2 separate regions of the Homo sapiens genome follow, and region 1 is linked to region 2. Evidence: promoter capture Hi-C in human tissues and cell types (Jung and others, 2019). All regions are on one chromosome and are shown on one strand. The core of a region is centred on a gene start or on the middle of the fragment in contact, and the rest is flanking DNA. Distances in the headings are between cores, read along the strand shown. Region 1 overlaps CDC14B (cell division cycle 14B). Region 2 holds the start of SLC35D2 (solute carrier family 35 member D2).

Region 1 (5,777 bases), core at 768-3,267, 200 kb after region 2:
CAAGCCAAGGACAGAGGCCTCAGCAGAAGCCAACCCCGCTGGCTCCTTGTTCTTGGCCTTCCTAAGCTCCAGAATTGTAACAAAATACATTTCTGTTGTCTACACCACGCAGACTATGCATAGCGTATTCTGTCACAGCAGCCCTAGATGACGAAGACAGATGACAACACTAGAGAAAAGTGAAACTGTGAGGCGGACAGAGGAATGCTCTACTATTTTTATCTTTTCTGTAACTCTAAAAGTTTTTTTTTTAAAGCAATTGACTAGGAGAAACTATTTGTAGCTTATATAACAAGGACTATATATAAATAAAAAACTATTTCTATGAAAATCTTAAAATTACACACAGTCCGATGAAAATAATCATATATTAAAAAGGCAAACCAGAAAAATAAATACAGATGACCAAAATCCATGTGACATATTTGGCCTAATTAGTAATTAGAAAAATGAAAATTACAAAATAATGAAATTTCATTTCATGCCATCCAGTTGGAAAAAAATTAAAATACTGATAGCAATCCTAGGGAAAGGTTGTGGGGAGAGTGCCACTTTTTTTTTTTTTTGAGACGGAGTTTCGCTCTTTTTTTTGCCCAGGTTGGAGTGCAATGGCCCAATCTCAGCTCACCGCAACCTCCGCCTCCCAGGTTCAAGCGATTCTCCTGCCTCAGCCTCCCGAGTAGCTGGGATTACAAGCATGCACCACCACGCCCGGCTAATTTTGTGTTTTTAGTAGAGATGGGGTTTCTCCATGTTAATCAGGCTTGTCTTGAATTCCCCACCTCAGGTGATCTGCCCACCTCGGCCTCTGAAAGTGCTGGGATTACAGGCGCGAGCCACTGCGCCCGGCTAGATTGCTACTTTTATACAAAGAAGGTGGACTGTAAATTGATGGGGGCGTTCTGGAGGGCAATCTGGCAGTATCTGTTATGCATGTAACCGGTAACCCAGCCAATCCCTCTATTGAAATCGACCCGAGAGAAATACTGGCATAGGAGTACTAAGAAGCAATGGACAGGTGTTCACTATAGCAGTGTCTGCAGTAAGACTAAATGGAAATAATTGTCATTAATATGGGAATAATTAAACCATGGCAATCATACTATCACTTAAAGTTAATAAAGTAGATCAATATGTAATCTTTCCACAGTCATACAAAGATCAACTAAGTATTTAAAAAACCTAATTGCATGATATATGTAAACAGAATAAATCAAAACTAAGCCTTATTTCTAAGGTAAATTTATATGTATAAAAATAAACAGATTTAAGCTCGGTGCGGTGGCTCATGCCTGTCATCCCAGCACTTCGGGAGGCAGAGGCGGGTGGATCACAAGGTCTGGAGTTCAAGACCAGCCTGACCAACATAGTGAAACCCTGTCTCTACTAAAAATACAAAAATTAGCCAGGCATGGTGGCGCGCGCCTGTAATCCCAGCTACTCAGGAGGCTGAGGCAGGAGAATCGCTTGAACCCAGGAGGTGGAGGTTGAGGTGAGCTGCGATTGCACCACTGCACTCCAGCCTGGGCAATAAGAGGGAGACTCTGTCTCAAAAAAGAAAAACAAAATTAACAGATTTGTATCCAATGAAGCACAAAGAAGAAAATAAATAAATAATCTTCTAAAATAAAGATAAACAGAGGGCCAGACACAGCGGCTCATGCCTATAGTCCCAGCTACTTGGGAGGCTGAGGCAGGAGGATCACTTGAGCCCAGGAGGTTGAGGCCACAGTGTGTTATGATTGCAGTACTGCACTCCAGCCTGGGCGATAGAGACCTCGTCTCTAAAAAAATTAAATTAATTAATTAAATTAATTAAATTTAAAAAATTAATTTAAAAATTAAAAAATTAAAAAAAGACAACAGAAAAATGCCCCTCCCAAAGAGTTACAGTGGTTACCAAGGAGATGGCCACTGTAAAGAGTTACAGTGGTTATCAAGGATTTGGGGGCAGGGAAGGAAGTATTTACTTTTTGAGTATTAGGTGGGTTTGAACGTGTTGGTGTTAGTCCATAAGTGAAAATATATTCCTCTGGGGAGTGAGGGAAGGATGAGGAGGAAGCCTTTCATCTTTCACAGTTATGTCCCCCTTAACCTTGGTGTCCTCTGCATCCCTGTTCAGTGTGGTCAAACAACAGCTATTTCCTGCCAGGACAAGATCCACCGTCCCAGCACAGATATAAGGTTAAATACAGCATTGGTAGCTAGTGCTCTGAAATGGAAAGATGCGATAACAACTCCAGCTAGTTGCCTTTCATCATCATCCTTCCTTATCCTAGTTTATCCCCTGCAGCCCTGGGCTGGAGACACAAAGCTGACTCCCAGTGCGCTTCATGGTGAGAACCAAGGGACGGCTCCATCAGCTAGCTCTCTGCTTCTCCTCCTGTTTTACGACAAAGGGCCCTGAAACTTAAGTCACTGGAAAAAACCTCTCCAGCCCCCGTCCCACATGCTGTCAATGTGACACTGTAAAAAGTAAAGTAGAGGTTCCTCTTCAAAGACTTTCCTCCCCGTCCAATTAGGAATAAATAGTAACTTTTCTTAGAAGCAAAATTTATCCAAAGACCTATGCTAACATTCTTAAATATCTGCTAACCATAATAAAAAAATCAATATACTTTATGTTCTTAGCTCCCACAATTTAGCCTAAATATTTGCCCTGGCATGCTTATACTGGTCCAAGCAAGCATTAGGTCATAGCCTGTTCCTCTTTAAAGTGTTTTTACCTTTCTCAGCATTTCACAAGTTACTTCCTCCTTCCTTTGTTCCACTCTACCTCTGCCTCTTTTAAAAAGTTCTAAGTTGCTAGTCAACTGGGACAAATACAGAATGTAAGGTACGGTTCCAGTCAATGGAAACTGGACACAGCAGTAGGGTGGATGCGTCAAGTTATAAATGACCCTGTCTCCTTTGTTTGGTGTACTTTCGTGACAAAACTGCTGGCGAGTGTACCCTTTCTGCAGGAAGTAAAAAAGGCCTTACTAAAAAAATTAAATGTATGTTCAAGTGCTATTTCTTTATGGCACTGAGGAACAAACATTTCAAACAACACAAAAGCAAAATCAGAGTTCAAGACCTTAGTTTCCTGTGTCACTGGATGCTGTATAATTAAACTCTCATCTGAGACTTTTACCAGATTTACTAATTAAATTGATCAGGATAGAGAATGGACTATCCAGATGAATTCCTCTTACTAATTTTATATAATGGGCCTGGGTTGTTTATTTACTTTAACTGCAGGGACAAGGATAAAACATATATGATTGGTTTAAGCTACAACAGGGAGCCGATCGGGCAGATCTGGTGGCAGTTGCTCTAATCAGAAACTTACACTCCAGAGACGGATGGCCATTATTAAAGCAGGGAGTCACATTCCAGAAATAATACAGTAGCTCTTCTGTTACGCATACCTCTGGAAAATTTATAATTCAAATACTGGGCATCAAAAATATTTTTATTGGTAAAATTAGTGGCATGTTCATCAGAATAATCCCTGTAAGAAATGGGCTCTCATTGGTGAAATTAGTGACTATCCACATATGCAGATTTGTCTAAAATATTTTATGGATACACCCCACATTTGCATGAACAGATAAGAGGAATCTAACGAGACTGTCTTCAGGGATAGTGTTTGAAATGTCAGTCTGGATGCGTAAACCGGCGCCACCCTCCGGCTACTGGTTGTATTTATTTATTATTATTATTATTATTATTATTATTATTATTATTATTATTGAGACTAAGTCTCACTCTGTAGCCCAGGCTGGAGTGCAATGGTGTGATCTCGGCTTACTGCAACCTCCACCTTCCGGGTTCAAGCGATTCTCCTGCCTCAGTCTCAAGAGTAGCTGGGACTACAGGTGCGCACCACCACGCCTGGCTAGTTTTTGCATTTTTAGTAGAAACCGGGTTTCACATATTGGTCAGGCTGGTCTGGAAATCCCGACCTCAAGTGATCTGCCCGCCTCAGCCTCCCAAAGTGCTGGGACTACAAGCGTGAGCCAAGGGCCCTGGCCTGGTTGTGAGGATTTCTTATTTTTTATTTTTATTTTTTTTTGAGACGGAGTCTCGCTCTGTCGCCCAGGCTGGAGTGCAGTGGCGCGATCTAGGCTCCCTGCAAGCTCCGCCTCCCGGGTTCACACCATTCTCCTGCCTCAGCCTTCCAAGTAGCTGGGACTACAGGCGTCTACCACCATGCCCAGCTAATTTTTTGTATTTTTAGTAGAGACGGGGTTTCAGCATGTTAGCCAGGATGGTCTCGATCTCCTGACCTCGTGATCCGCCTGCCTCGGCCTCCCAAAGTGTTGGGATTACAGGCATGAGCCACCGCGCCTGGCGGTTGTGAGGATTTCTGATTGACTGGAACCAACTATAAGCATGACAAACCCTATACCTGTGCTTCAAGTAAGCTTTTCATAAAAGGGGTCAGAGTACCCACAAAATGCAAGAGCTAAGCTTTCAGGACAGGACGAATCATCTGTTTTGTGCCTGCTTGCTAATAAATATGCATTGAATGAACGACTGTTGAGTGGCAGACTTTTTCATCTGAGGCTAGCTTTTATTATAACTTGGTAGCAGTGTTGTGGGGAAGCAGCTAAACTCCATCTACCTCAAGTCTTTTTGGTTGTGACTGTAACCTATCAAAAAGTCCTAAGGGGTGTGGATGACCAGATTGGCTCAGGTCCGTTTCCAGCAGTATGGTACAAAGAATTAGATTACATATGGTATCACTAATATGCCCTAAAACATTTGGATCATAGTCAAGAAAGTCAGACTCCTGACCCAGAGAAGAGAAGGCACAGAGGAAGAAAGCATTCACTTTCAGCAGATAAGATATTCTTCTAGGATAAGCCAAGAACTCTGATAGGTTACATTCTAATTTTTCCATCTAAATAAGCATTTCAAAGGGGAAAAAAGATAAGTAAGTGTCTATATCATTTCAAATTTCTTGGCAATTAATAAAACAGACTTTATTTTATTTATTTATTTTTTGTGACGGAGTCCCGCTTTGTCGCCCAGGCTGTAGTGCAGTGGCACAATCTTGGCTCACTGCAACCTCTGCCTCCCAGGTTCAAGCAATTCTCCTGCCTCAGCCTCCCAAGTAGCTGGGATTACAGGTGCGTTCCACAATGCCTGGCCAATTTTTTTGTCTTTTTAGTAGAGGCAGGGTTTCACCGTGTTGGTCAGGCTGGTCTCGAACTCCTGACCTCAGGTGATCCACCTGCCTCGGCCTCCCAAAGTGCTGGGATTACAAGCATAAGCCACCACGCCTGGCCAAGACTTACTTCAATGAGTATTTTGAATACATAATTGCCTTATCGGAAGCAAAATTATTCATAATATTTTATCTCCAATGATATTTCAAATCCTTCCTAACATTATTTAGGACATTCACAATTCTAGGCCACTCAACATATTAATAAGTAATTCTTTCTTTAGAAAACAACTTCTCAGAGAGATTTAAAATGCATTGTCATGCCAATTGCACTGTTGTTGTTTATTTAAAGAAAATGGTGTGGAAGGGATTAAGGCACTTTTTTTTTTTTTAACTTTAAGTTCTGGGATATATGTGCAGAACGTGTATACATGTGGCATGGTGGTTTGCTGCACCCATCAACCCGTCATCTAGGTTTTAAGCCCCACATGCATTAGGTATTTGTCCTAATGCTTTCCCTCCCCTTGCCCCCAACCCCCAGACAGGCCCCAGTGGGTGATGTTTCCCTCCCTGTGTCCCTGTGTTCTCATTGTAAGGTACATATTGAAGTTTTAAAAATGGG
Region 2 (5,728 bases), core at 1,638-4,137:
ATGTCAAATGCTCCAGGTTTAGGTACAGTATGTCCATGTTCATTTCCTTGAGGCAGGGCTGTGTTTTCCATGGACACCAGGCAGCAGGCTGCAACACACTGGAGAGACCTTGCCAAGAATACTGACGGCCACAGGATCACCAAAAAATATCCCAAATCCATCCCTTCCTTTTACCTCCGCTGCTATGCCCTGCCCAGTCCACGCCGTCTTTACCTGCAGCCCTGCAGTGGCTTCCAGCCCCTCTCCCTGATGCCAGTACTGTCAGTTCTCCACCCGCCTGCCAGCCAGAGAGATCTTTTTAATCACACAAATTGTGTCAGGTCACTCCCATGTCAAAACCTTCCAAGGGACTTCTAATTGCATTTAGCATGAAACTACAACTATTTATCCAGTCTCATCCTTCCACCCTGGTCCCCAGATGTCGGCTCTCAACACAGCAGCCACAGTGATTTAGATCATGTAATTCCCCTGCCTGACACCTTGCGTGGCTCCCATCTCATTCAGAGCTGATGCCAGAGCCCTGGCGGTGGCCTCCCAAGGCCCCACACAGGCCAGCAATCCATTACTCTCAGACCCCATCTGCTACCATTCCCATTCAAACTCTTCACTCCTCCAGGCCTGGAATGCTCTTCCCCCGTCCCCCAGTGTGGCTTATGTCCCCACCTCACTCTGGTCTTGGCTCCAATGCCACCTCCTTCTGAGGCTCCACTGATCACGCTCACACTGCATACTCTCCCCTCCCTCTCTCCCTCACTCCCTTTCCTGTTTTATTTTTTCCCCAGCACCTTGGTCACATCTGACATAATGTAAATGTTACTGGCTCATTTATTGGTCCACAAGGATGCAGCTCCGTGAAGTTAAGGATTCTGATCTGCTCTTTTCACTTCTCTTTCCCAAGAACGGTGGGAAAACACTGTTCTCCTCGAACAGTGCTGGTACATCACAAGTGCTTAGTGAAAGCTATCAAAAATGAGAGAAAGAGCTGACTCCTGCCTTCCCTGCCTACCTCCCCGCCCAGGCACAGTGATCTTCTCTCTGTTCCTCCAGCAGCCAAGCTCATGCCCACTTCAGCACATTGTACACTTGCTGCTCACTTCTACCTGGAATGCTCTGTGACAGCTACTCCAGCCCAGGCACTCTCACATCAGATCTGAAAGTGTCTCGTTTATTCATGAACCTACCTGTTTATTTTCTGTCTCCACCACTGAAGCAGAATCTCCAGAGCAGGGACCTTGTGCTGTTCACAGAGGCTTCCCTGGTGCTTGCAATGGGCTCAGTATTTAGTAGGTGCTTAATAAATATCTGTTGGAGGTACAACCAATCGAGCTTATGTGGGCCTCAGTTTTCTCGAATATAAAATAAGAAAGGTGAGGCTGGATGAGATAGTTTGCACCTGTAATCACAGCACTTTGGGAGGCCAAAGCAGGCCTAGACCAGCCTTGGAAACACACTGAGACCCCACCTCTACAAAAAATCAAAAAAATTGCCGGTGCAGTGGTGCACACCTATGGTCCCAGCTTCTCTGGAGGCTGCAGCAGAAGGATTGCTTGAACCCAGATGGTCGAGGCTGCAGTGAGTCATGATTGTGTCACTACACTCCAGCCTAGGCAACAGAGTGAAACCTTGTCTCAAAAAAATATTATACACACACACACACACACACACACACACACTATATATATATATATATATATGCCTGCCTTGGCCTCCCAAATGCTGTGATTACAGGTGCAAACCACCTCAGCCAGCCTCAGCTTTCGTATTTTATATTCGAGAAAAGTGAGACCCACATAAGCTGAATCTGTATGTATATATAAAAAAAGAAAGCTGATACTCTAAGATACTCTCTAACTAAGACACTCTAGGTCTCTTTGGGCTCTAAAATGTTGATGGCATATTCTTGTAACATAGTAGAGTTTACAAAGAGCCTTCACATATAACAGCTCGTGCAGAGCCCTGGAGGGTAATTAACACGATTGTAATCATTCAGGTTTTTTGCATCTGAAAAAAATTGCTGACTGTGAGACTGGTCCAAAAAGACAGGTGTTAACCGGTGGAGCTGGGTCTAAATCCACAATTTTCTCAGTGCCGCTACAATGGTAGCAGAATTAAGCAGGATTTTCTAGTCCTTACAAATAGGTTCAAGGCAGCACAAATTTGCGTTTACTTCACACTAATCCAAAAAAGTACTCCATATGAACTTCCAATTGTTTTCCCGAGTTTTCCATGAACACGCTGGTCATCTGAGAATGAACAGTCAATCAATACAGACTTACTGGCTCAGGAGTACCTGACCGTTGAACATGGAGATCTGTGTAAGGAATTGCGTCCTTTGAAGCAGGCATTTGAATCCCTGTTTTCAGCTCGCTGGGTGTATGAAAGAATCTGTCTGAGCTCTACCAGCCCACCTAGGACAGGGCGCCTCGCAGCAGGGCAGGCGCGCTCAGGAAGAGAACGACTTTCTCAGGTTGTGGCCTGAGTGTAGAAAGCTGAGCGAGTTCTGGAGGGCGCCTGGGAAACTCGACCAATGTGCCCAGCTGAGACTCGAGGGTCCCTGTCCCCACCCGCCCTGTCCCGGGCGCCGCTGAAGCGCACGGAGGACAGGGGCAGCCCCGCACTCCCGCAGACCCCCCGGCCCCGGGCCCCGCCTCACCCGTAGGTGGTCAGCAGCGCCTTGTTGACAAGCACGATGAGGAAGGAGCAGGTCCCGTAGAAGAGCGCCGACAGCAGCCGGGCCACCCGCGAGGGCAGCCGCGCCGCGCCGGGCTCCCCGCCAGCGCCCTCGGCCTCGGCCTGGCCGCCGGCCGTCATCTCCTGCGGCCCCGCGGACCCCGCCGCCCGCCAGCCCCGGCTGCGCACTGGTCCCGCCCGGCCGGGCCGGGGAAGAGGGCGCGGCAGGAACAGGAAGAGCCCGGCGCAATCCCAGGTCCCGACCCGCCCCCTGCGAGCGCCCGAGGCCGGCGCGGGAGGACCCTGCGCGCTGGACTTCACCCTGGTTCCAGGCACCTCCTTCGGTCTCCAGGGCCGGCAATGCGCTGGGGAGTTGAAAAGCGCTGCCTTCCTCCAGGCTTTCCTGGAAAGAAACGCTTCAGTAAGTCTCAGGGCTTGTTTTGCTTTTTTTTTTTTTTCCCTACAACTTTTTTGTTTAGTGTATAATTTACATACAATGAAGTGTACACATCTTGCCAGTCCATAGTTTGAGATGAGCTTCGACAAAGGCATCCACAGGAGTAACTACTCAAAACAACATTTCCATCGCCCCAAAAATTCCCCTTGCTGCCCCTTTGAAGTTAACGCCCGCATCTCATCGATGACTATTGCTGTAGGTTAGGTTTGCCTTTTCCGGAATTTCAAATAAACAGGGTGCTTTCTAGAATTTATGAATGAGCATGTGGTCTCAGGGGTTTTCACTCTATGCTTTGGACTCGACCATGTGGTTTGTTTAATCGTTGAATAGTATCACAAATTGTGTATCCATTGGTTGTTTCCAGTTTAGGACCATTAGGAAAAATGCTTCCATGAAAATTCGTGGGCGTTTGTGGGACCTGTGTCTTCATTTCTCTTAAATAAATATCTAGGAGTGGAGTGGCTAGGAGTAAGGTGGGTGAAGCCTTGGGACTTGGGTGTCCTCTGGGTGCTTTGTGGTAGGTGCATTCCTCGCGGAGGGCCGTTTGCCTTCGGGTCAGGTCAGTTGAAGGACAGCTTCCCAGAACCGCCTACCCTTGTCAGTCTTTAAAAAATATGAACTTTTGGCCAGGCGCGGTGGCTCACACATGTAATCCCAGCACTTTGGGAGACCGAGGCGGGCAGATCACGAGGTCAGGAGATCGAGACCATCCTGGCTAACACGGTGAAACCCCGTCTCTACTAAAGATACAAAAAAAATTAGCCGGGCGTGGTGGCGGGCGCCTGTAGTCCCAGCTACTCAGGAGGCTGAGGCAGGAGAATGGCGTGAACCCGGGAGGCAGAGCTTGCAGTGAGGCGAGATCGCGCCACTGCACTCCAGCCTGGGCGACAGAGCAAGCCTCCGTCTCAAAAATATATATATTATATATTTAATATATAATGTATATTATATATATATATATATATGAACTTTTAGCTTCTTAGAAAAGCTTAAGATTTCAAGTTAAATAAAAGTTGGGGCCTAACTATATAGATGCCCAGAGAATTGTTTTTCTACCCTTAGGCACTAAACAACCAGGAGAATGAAAACTGGGAAACATTTTCAGCCCTGATAAGAACTAAAGCAGAACTCGTGAAAATTAGCTAGCATTAAAAAGACCAGAAGTGCCCAAGTTACCCAAAACAAGAAAGAAAAGACATGTTAAGTCCGTTTTAAAAGAGAAAATGAATCCATATTCAAGTTAAACAGGAAATCGGTCATTTTGGTTAATTTCCTCAGAACATTCAATTTTCTTGTGAGTCTCCAAATGTTTTGACTGCAAAAAGAATATTTTAAAGTTATTTTTAATGATGACCTTCATCATAATTGCATTTAGTTTGATTGTATACACATACTTCCAGGACCTTACCTCGCTGTCAAAATCCCATCCTTACCCTGTTTAAACAGCAACTCACACTAAGGAGTTGCTTGTGATATTCTTCTGCACAAGGGTAGGACAGGCTGACCCTTGCCACTGCAAATACACAACTAAAGATCTACCAAAAATAACTGATGAAAAAAGAAAACCAATTTGCTAGACTCTTAGAAAAGTACACAGGCTTTAAATGGATTCTTGAGGAGCTGACCCCAGAGACAACCCATCCTAAATGTAAGTGAAATGAAATCCCTTTTCCTTATTACCCTAATTTAAGGCCTGGAAATGGGGTGGCAATAGTTCAATACTTATCCACAGCAGTATATTTTTAACACTGTAGTAATGAACCCGATGAGGAAGTTAAATATCTATAACCTTAAAAGCCATAATTAAAGTAAGAAAAAGCAATCCACACTGTACTTACAACTACGCAAACATGTACTGAAATAATACTGATGGCTGAACATAAGGCTGTAGGTGATGTTTCTATCTTTTAAATTTTTTTATATCATGGTTATTATATTTTCGATAGGAAAACAAATGATAAAGGCTTTAAGAATGACCGTGTACTTTAAATTTTAAATTAAAATAAATTTTTATTCAAAGCATCTTTTAAAATTACAGCATGTTTATTCTTATGCTGTTAACTCTGCCAAACTACAACTTAGCCATATGAAGCATAAAACACTTCAAAAATTTGAATGTAAACCATTTTTTAAAACAAAAAGCAGTCTTAACACACCTCAAATTTTAGATACCAATGTATTTTTCCAAGTATATAGCTTATATCAAAAAGAACATTTTAAATGTTTCTAAATAGTTGTGATAATTTCTTAAACTGTTGCAATTATACAAATAAAAAATGTTTATGAAAAAACTATTAGAGTTGACAAAAGCTGACTGGAGAAACAAGGAAAAACCCTTACTTTTGAAGGCCTTAAATGTTATCATCTGTGAATTGGCAAATATTTGTATTTGAAAAATTCTTACTACCCTTCCTTCTTTAGTTAAGTTGATCAAAGTTCAAATTTCCCAAGACTGATGAGTGTTGTTTTTAGTTCATTAAATCACATATTTGAGAGCAAAAATTCTAGAGGAAATGCTGAAACATAAACCAAGATAATTCAGATGCTATAGTCTCTCTTACCAGCTTATAAGTGCTCCAAATTAAAATTCTATATACCACA

What was found. Contacts are between HindIII fragments. The study calls those that stand out against the background at their distance.
Region 1: a contact is called between a fragment that was not itself captured here and the fragment with the promoter of SLC35D2 in region 2, in 1 of the 25 tissues and cell types used here (spleen).

The regions. Positions count from the first base shown.
Region 1 is chr9:96,579,680-96,585,456 of GRCh38, forward strand. The region is part of intron 1 of CDC14B (cell division cycle 14B); the gene reads right to left. Among named protein-coding and RNA genes, the nearest start is that of CDC14B, 37 kb to the right of the region's middle. The HindIII fragment of the contact is 4,829 bases long and covers 1-4,432 here.
Region 2 is chr9:96,380,824-96,386,551 of GRCh38, forward strand. It overlaps SLC35D2 (solute carrier family 35 member D2), which reads right to left and starts at 2,888. Exons shown (of 12, transcript NM_007001.3): 1 at 2,654-2,888. The coding sequence starts at 2,811. SLC35D2-HSD17B3 (SLC35D2-HSD17B3 readthrough) reads right to left here and starts at 2,888. Exons shown (of 26, transcript NR_182427.1): 1 at 2,654-2,888. ZNF367 (zinc finger protein 367) reads right to left here. Exons shown (of 5, transcript NM_153695.4): 5 at 5,118-5,728. RefSeq lists silencers at 2,487-2,536, 2,547-2,876. The HindIII fragment of the contact is 24,287 bases long and covers 1-5,728 here.